Linked DNA regions of Homo sapiens: region 2 is linked to region 1. The links are contacts of gene promoters, found by promoter capture Hi-C in blood cells and fetal thymus (Javierre and others, 2016). All regions are on one chromosome and are shown on one strand. The core of a region is centred on a gene start or on the middle of the fragment in contact, and the rest is flanking DNA. Distances in the headings are between cores, read along the strand shown.

Region 1 (3,771 bases), core at 321-2,820:
TATGAAAACCCCCTGGCACAGTGTCTGGCACATAATGACCACACCGCCACCACCACCACCATCATCATCACTATTATTCCTCCAAGGCAAAGGGTCAAATTCTGGTAGCCAAAGAGAGCTGCCACTTCAGATGTGAGCTTACAGAGGCCTGGGTTCTAGTACCTTCCCTGCCACTTTCCAGCAGCAGGATCCTGGGCTAGTCACATCCCCCTTGTAGGTCTGTTTCTTCCATTGTAAAACTGGGGGAGGGTGAAGAAAGAGATCTGTATAGGTCCCTTCCTGTCTGGCACCCTCTATCTTATGTGCAGCTTAGGGGGATTGGCCTGGTTTGTATTGGCAAACAGCCAGGAGTTCCAATGGGAAGCCAGCAGACACTGCATAGGGTCAGGCCAGAGAAGGTTAAGTTAGAATGAAATCAAGTCCAGTCTCATCTCTTCCATCCACCTCCCATCCGGCACCCTCTTTCTGGCCACATCCAATACCCACTGAGCTACCTGAGCCTTTGCCCATGCTGGGTCTTTGTCCAGAATTCTCTGCCACACACCCCAATGCTCCATTGGTACACATTCTTCGCAGGCCCACTCAAGTGATCCTCCGCCCCAGGCAGAACCATGTACCTAATCTTGATTGAGCATTCCCACCCCCAACACATCCCTCAGCTGAGTAGATGCAGTGTGCCAGCATTTTGGACACTATAGGTCTCAAAGGAATCCAGTGAGCTGCACTATGCGCTTTTGAGGGAAAGCCCCGGGATTCAGCTGTCAGGATTCAGCCAGGGCTGCAGGATCAAGGACTCACAGTGCAGACACCGACACAATCTTTCTCTCCCCTCTCCCAGACGGTGCAGCCAAAGCTGCCCCAGGCCAGCTGATGCCCACACAGACGCTGCTGCCCGGCCTAGAGGCCCTGGCACTGGGCGCACTCCTTGAGGGAGGTTCGGAGGTGCCCTCATTCCACCTGTGGCCAGTCAGGCTCCTCTCCTCTGAGTGCGTGCCCCATCTGATGCGGTCTCCACTCGCTATCCAGCCCCAGCATTCCGGGTGAGCTGGGCCCTTCAGCACTTCTACCACTCAATGGCTGTGTGACCTTGAACAACTCATTTGAACACCCTGTGCCTCAGTTTCTCATCTGCGAAATGAAGATAACATAATGTCCTACCCATATGGCCGCAGCGAAGATCAAATGACGTGCCTCTCCTGGGTCAAGGCCTGGCACACAAAGTACAGCACGCAGTCAAGGATCGCTATTACCTTTATTATTTGTAGCTAACCTCTCAGCCGCTGCTCCCCGCTCACCTGGCGGGTGTGGTCCCCGAGTCCCAGACGCACTGGCAAGGTCCCCTCGGCCCAGTGCGCGGACCGGTAACCATTCCGCTCGGAGCCACACAGACGCCCCACACGGAGGTGGCCGTTCGGAGGGCGCCAACCTCACCCCTGGCACTCCCCAAACGGATGCGGGGGTCCTCTCGGCCTCGGCCCGCCCCCCTCCCTCCTCCAGGCAGACTCACGGCCGTCGGTCTCCCACGCCAGCTCCTCCTGCATCCTGCCGCTCCGCAGCCCCTGCGCGCGCTGGTGCCCGGGCGCGAGGCGCGCGTCCGCCGGGGCGGGGCCCGGGGAGCCGAGAGGACGGGGCGGTCGCTCCTCCAGACTCCACGCCCCGCCTGCTAGGAGCGCAGCTGCCCCGGCCACCCCAGTCCCGGACCAGGACGCAGGTCCCTCCTCCTGCTCTCTTAACCTGCCCACCCCTCCGCGCCCGAGGCCGGCGGGTCGGGGCCACGCCGAGTTCCGCAGGTGTCCCTGACCCAGTCTCCTCCCCGGGAGTTCGCCCAGCCTCCCCGGCCCTGGAGATAGATGCGCACAAGGCATCTGGCAGGCTCATCCTCCTCGCGCCTCTCGGGACTCGGGGAGGAGGGCTGAGCCTTGGGCCCGCCGCCTCAGGCGCAGAAAGTCAAACCCCAAAGATGTGAGCTGGCGTTTAAGGGACCACAACCTCAGCAGGTCTGCAAGCATATGAAGAGATGGTCGGATTTATCAGTGTTCAGAAAGATTTATCAGGCCCATAAAGGGACATGTAGGAGGATGTTGGTTGCTGTGTTGCTGTGGTTGCTGGGAGTTGGAGACAATCTAAGCGCCCTTTCTTGTAAGAGCAGATGGATAAACTGTGCAGCACTCAAAGCAAGGGACCCGCTGTATTCGTGGCAATATGGATTTAAACACCTAGTGCTAGGCAGAAAAAGTAAATAACCAAACCAAATAAGACCTAGGAAACAATATCAATAAAAATATTACAAATGCATTTACATCAAACAACACAGACTTGCAAAGACACATAGAAACAAAAAGATACACATTAAATACACCAGAATGGGTTGCACTTCAGACCCTTGGGGGATGTCCATGTCCTTTTTGCCTTAAAGGCATTTACAGCTTCTTTGAATTTAGGGATAATGGGGTCTCAGGCATCTCTATCCCAAGGCAAGAAGCCAGCAAAGCCATGATAGGTGTAGTTACTACTACTTTGGGGATCAAAGGAGGAAGAGCATCTTTCAGTCATTAGTCCTTAGAATATAGTTCAAGAAGGCTTCCTGAAGAAGGAGGTATTTGGAATGGCCTTTGAAAAATAACATAATGATAACAGCTAACAATTAATGAGCCCTGAGCCAACCCCTCAAAATGGTCTCAAAATAACAATTCCAACATAATAATCAAAGATATGATTTTTTTTTTTCTGAGACAGAGTCTCACTCTTTCGCCCAGGCTGGAGTACAGTGGTATGATCTCGGCTCACTGCAACCTCTGCCTCCTGGGTTCAAGCAGTTCTCCTGCCTCAGCCTCCCATGTAGCTAGGATTACAGGCACTCGCCCCCACACCTGGATAATTTTGTATTTTTAGTAGAGATGGGGTTTCACTATGTTGGTCAGGCTGGTGTTGAACTCCTGACCTCAGGTGATCCACCTACCTTGGCCTCCCAAAGTGTTGGGATTACAGGTGTGAGCCACTGCGCCGCACCCCCCCCTTTTTGTTTTTGTTTTTTTTTTAAGACAGAGTCTCACTGTGTTGCCCAAGCTGGAGTGCAGTAGCGTAATCTCAGCTCACTGCAACCTCTGCCTCCCAGGTTCAAGCGATTCTCATGCCTAAACCTCCCAAGTAGCTGGGACTACAGGTGTGTGCCACCACACGCGGCTGATTTTTGTATTTTTAGTAGAGACGGGGGTTTCACCATGTTGGCCAGGCTGGCCTCGAACTCCTGACCTCAGGTGATCTACCCACCTAGGTCTCCCAAAGTGCTTGGCCACCACGCCTAGCCAAAGATATTATTCCTGAAAACAGTTTAAATGTTTTTTGTAAAGCTTTTGTCACATGTACATCCCACTAGGGGCATAGTGTCACGTTACTGTTTTAGTCACTTGGAATAGTTCTTTATGTGGTTATGCCACCAACTCAACATGCATGGTTTATTTATTTTGTTTTGCTTTTGTTTTTTGATATTTTTAAATGTTAATTTTGCTTTACAATTATGTAAAGTATTTACATGTTTCAAAGTTAAGTCTCTGAAGGTTGTCATAGTCAGCTGTGGTGATGGATGAAGAGGGCACCACTGGCTTCCAGCCTGCTGTCACTCTCCTTCACTCCACATCCAGCTTTTCTTCCCAGCTGCTGAGCCTGCTGACCAACAGTGGCCCCAGGCCATCGCGGACTTGGCTGCAGACCCAGGGCATTAGTACCACCCATAGACCTCCCCAGGAGCTTTCCCTTGTGGTTCCATTTTAG
Region 2 (3,890 bases), core at 1,268-3,767, 230 kb after region 1:
TCTATTTCTCAGCTGATTGTTTCTCTTTGCCTTTGGGGAACACCTGTTCCATATTCTTCTGACTATCAAGGCCAGTATTCTGGAGGAATTTAAGAGTCCCCAAACTCCAAGGGAGGAATAAATATCATATGCTTTAATGACTGCAGGAGGTTAGGACTGTGCACAGATTAGAAGCTCAAAAAAAAAAAATTAAAAAAGGATTCTTATGAGGCAGGTAGGAGGGTCCTAGCTGTGGACATTACTACTGGGATGAAGATAAACAAAACAAAACAAGACAAAACAACAGGTGGTAGGGAAAACAGGCTTACCTGCTGCATAGGGTAAGTTGTACTGTGCTGGGAGCAATGAGTACCCCAAGTGGTGGTGGTGGTGGTGTGTGGACATCAGGCGCTGGGAAGGAGAGGTGCGGGGCCGGTCAACACTCCGTTCACCCCCACTTGCTCCCCCGACGCTGCTACAGCTGCCACCACCCCCAACCACCCCACAGCCTCCTCGATCTCTCTCCTGAGAAGTTTTATCACTTATCTGGAAAGGAAACCAGAGACACAAAAGCACTATAGTGAGACACATATGCATACAACCACACACACACACACACACACACACACAAGTGAGATGCCCAGGGTGCCACCTTATGACCCCTAAAAGTGCAAGATACCTAAGAATAAAGAAGATGCCCTGGGGGCTGCCAGTGTCAAGTCAGCCAAGCTGCACTGTGGTCAGGACCTGAACTTGCCCACCTTCTCCCAGACCCTGGATCTGGCCTTACTAGTCTTTGGGTAACAGCCAGCATCACTGTACTTTTCTTACCGTGGGAGACTTGCTCTTGTAGTGACTGGCATGCTGCTGCAAGATGTCCAGGGCTTTGGACTCTGAGCTGGATTTACAAGTCACACTGGGGCTGGCTCGTGCCTTGTCAGCATCTTCACCACCTGAGACCTTGCTGCCATATGGGGAAAAAGAGTAGCTGGAAGGCAGGTAGGAACCTGTGGAAGGAGAAATCAAACAGTCAAAGAGATGGGAGAGGTAGAGGAAACTCTGCTTTAGTGAGCTTGATTGGGTGGGCATCAGCTTTCCTAGGCACAGGCTGAGGTATTTTCTAACATAGTGTCTTTGGCTGAGACTGTTGGCTTGACCTTTCTTTACTGAGCTCTACAGGAAAAATTAGCTAAGGGATATTAGGAACATGGCCCTGTTTCCTGCTTCCAACTTCCATAGATCTGATACTGTTCTTTGAACTGGTCTCAGATTCATCTTGGAGAAGTGATATGATAAAGTGGAAAGATCACACTTATCTGGAGTCAGAGCCTTGGGCTCAAAACCTTACTCTGAGACTTACTAGCTTGGTAACCTTGAGCAAATAAATAACTGTTTTGAGCTTCAGTTTCTTCATCATCAAAAATGAAGATATCAATACTTATTACTTAAGGTGATAGGGAGGATTAAAAAAGATAATGTCTATAAATCTCAGAGGACAGCGCCTGGCTCAGGGCGAGCACTCAACAAATGCAACTATGATTTTTATATTGATGGGTGTGAGTGACAGGGATAAAGGAACACCTCAAGGGTAAGAAATTTCCTATTTCTGTTTGAAAAGCTTATTTCTATTTAGAGTGTGCTTTATAATAATGTCACCAGAATGTTGAGACTATTTAGGCTGCTGTAGGAAGCTGGAGGCTCTAAGGAGTGAGGCTAAAGCAGTGCCCTTCCACCCCAGAAGCACCCCACATGGTTCTTTGGGCAACAAAACGAGTAGAGTTAAATAAGAGCATTTTCTTCTAACAAGTTAAAAAACATTTAAGGCCGGAGCGGTGGCTCATGCCTGTATCTCAGCACTTTGGGAGGCCAAGGCAGCCGGATCACCTGAGGTCGGGAGTTCAAGACCAGCCTGACCAACACGGAAGAACACCGTCTCTACTAAAAATACAAAATTAGCCAGGAGTGGTGGCACATGCCTGTAATCCTAGCTACTTGGGAAGCTGAGGCAGGAGAATCGTTTGAACCCAGGAGGTGGAGGCTGTGGTGAGCCGAGATCACGCCACTGCACTCTAGCCTGTGCAACAAGAGTGAAATTCCGTCTCAAAAAACAAACAAACAAAAAACATTTAAACACTATAAAGAGCTTGTCTTTTCCAAGCTGAATCTAGCAGGACCTCCCCCCAGTCTGACTTCAGATGGCTCTTCTTACTTGACAGGTGAACATGATCTGGCAACTGAATCCATGCATTGTTATGGTTTGCATTTTATTTGTTCTTTGTGTCTCTCCACTATGATTAAGCTGTAAGCTCCGGGAGTGGAAGGAACTCAATGGCTCTACTTCTTTTGTACCTCCCACAGTGCCTAGCACACTGCAAAACGTGGAGTATATGGTTTACAAATTCCAGCTGAGGGGAGACAGCAGTGACAGAGAAGGAGTTTTACCTTTAGTTAGCAATGAAAACTGACTACAGAGACAATCCTTGAGCTGGAGCAAGGGAGAGAGAGGTAGTCACACAGACTATCATTATGGGTCATTCAAGGAACTATGGGTTATGGTGGCCACCTCACAGAATGACTCAGTGAAAAAAGGTCCGTCATCTAAGCGAGCCTCAATATGCCTTGGGGCTGAGCAAGAAAACTCTGGATGTGAAATCTGTGCTTCATTCCCCCTTCCAGTGAATGGAATAGTGCTGGCACTTGGTGCTGTACCTGGGTAGTTCTGCATCATCACAGCAGGCATGCTCCGGTAGCTGGGGTGGTTGGGGTCGTAGGACTGACTGTAGGAATAGCCGTGCATGTAGGGGATGTAGGACTGGTGCTGGGTAAGTGGGGAGGACACAGGCACATGGACACTTGGCCGGGGCTCCTTGCTCCCAAGGCGAGACTCCTCTGACGTGGGCAGCTTGCAGTCACTACTTGTGCTTTCCTTCCCATCTTCCTTGGGGACAGAGTCCTTACTCCGACTCCTTTCCTCCTTCAATTTGCGGTCCCGCTCCTCCTTCCACCGCTCATCCTCTGACTTGATGTCTGAGTACTTGGCAGGATAAACATATGTCCACATCCGGGGCTCTGCCTCCTACAACAATCACAGAACAACGACTGGGTGTTGTACAGATAAGACAGATATACTTCAAGCCCAAGGTCCCAGTAGAACCACCAGAGCAGATAATTAGTACTAGACACCTGGGGCAGAGTAGGATTTTGGCCTCTACTGATCTTGTTTATAATCCAACTCTGCTCCCTTTTGGTTAAAAAGCCCCCGCCCCCACCTCTGCACCCACCCACAGGGAACAAGATGGGGCAGGGGGAGAAAAGGAAAATCCATCCATGCATCAGTGGATGTTTTCTAGGTAAGAACAAGCATTCTGGGAAAACGACTGAAATAGGAGAGGCTGCCCCTTCCAATATGTTTAGATTGTTTCACTTTTTCAGAGCACGCTCAGGGACTGGAAAGCTTATAAGTGACACTCAGATCAGAGGAGGGAGGGAAGCATAACTATTATACCAAGAGGGAAGGGAAGACATTCTAAGTCTCATGAGCAGAGCAAGATATGAGATTCCAAGTTCCTAGTTCTAACTCAACCTATAAAATCCTTGTTAAAGAAACTCAGTAACTGAGTATACTTTGGACCTACTCTAAAAAATAGAGAGACCATCAATAACTCATTTCATAGGAACCAAACAGTGGAGGAAACACGGACAAGGAATCGAGATACCTGGGTTCTAATCCTGGCTCTGCTAGTGAGGTCTCAAGTAACCCCAGACAAATTAAGCTAACTTGTCTGGGCCTTTCCTGTCAAATGGAAAAAACACCTGCTATGGATATAAAAGTGCTTTTTAAAAAACATTAATATGAATCCCTGTGCTTTGGGAGGCTGAGGCGCGAGGATTGCTTGAGGCCAGGAGTTCAA

What was found. The method cuts DNA at HindIII sites, captures the fragments that hold promoters and counts their contacts. A CHiCAGO score of 5 or more calls a contact.
Region 2: a fragment that was not itself captured here is called in contact with the fragment with the promoter of ANKDD1A in region 1 in 1 of 17 cell types (naive CD4 T cells); the score reaches 5.5 in naive CD4 T cells.

The regions. Positions count from the first base shown.
Region 1 is chr15:64,909,701-64,913,471 of GRCh38, reverse strand. ANKDD1A (ankyrin repeat and death domain containing 1A) reads right to left here and starts at 1,570. Exons shown (of 15, transcript NM_182703.6): 1 at 1,508-1,570. The coding sequence starts at 1,541. RefSeq lists an enhancer at 815-1,358 and silencers at 1,545-1,724, 1,925-1,974, 2,048-2,342. The HindIII fragment of the contact is 10,512 bases long and covers 1-3,352 here.
Region 2 is chr15:64,677,281-64,681,170 of GRCh38, reverse strand. It overlaps ZNF609 (zinc finger protein 609), which reads right to left. Exons shown (of 10, transcript NM_015042.2): 6 at 2,689-3,055; 7 at 811-986; 8 at 309-525. Among named protein-coding and RNA genes, the nearest start is that of OAZ2, 24 kb to the left of the region's middle. The HindIII fragment of the contact is 1,836 bases long and covers 1,600-3,435 here.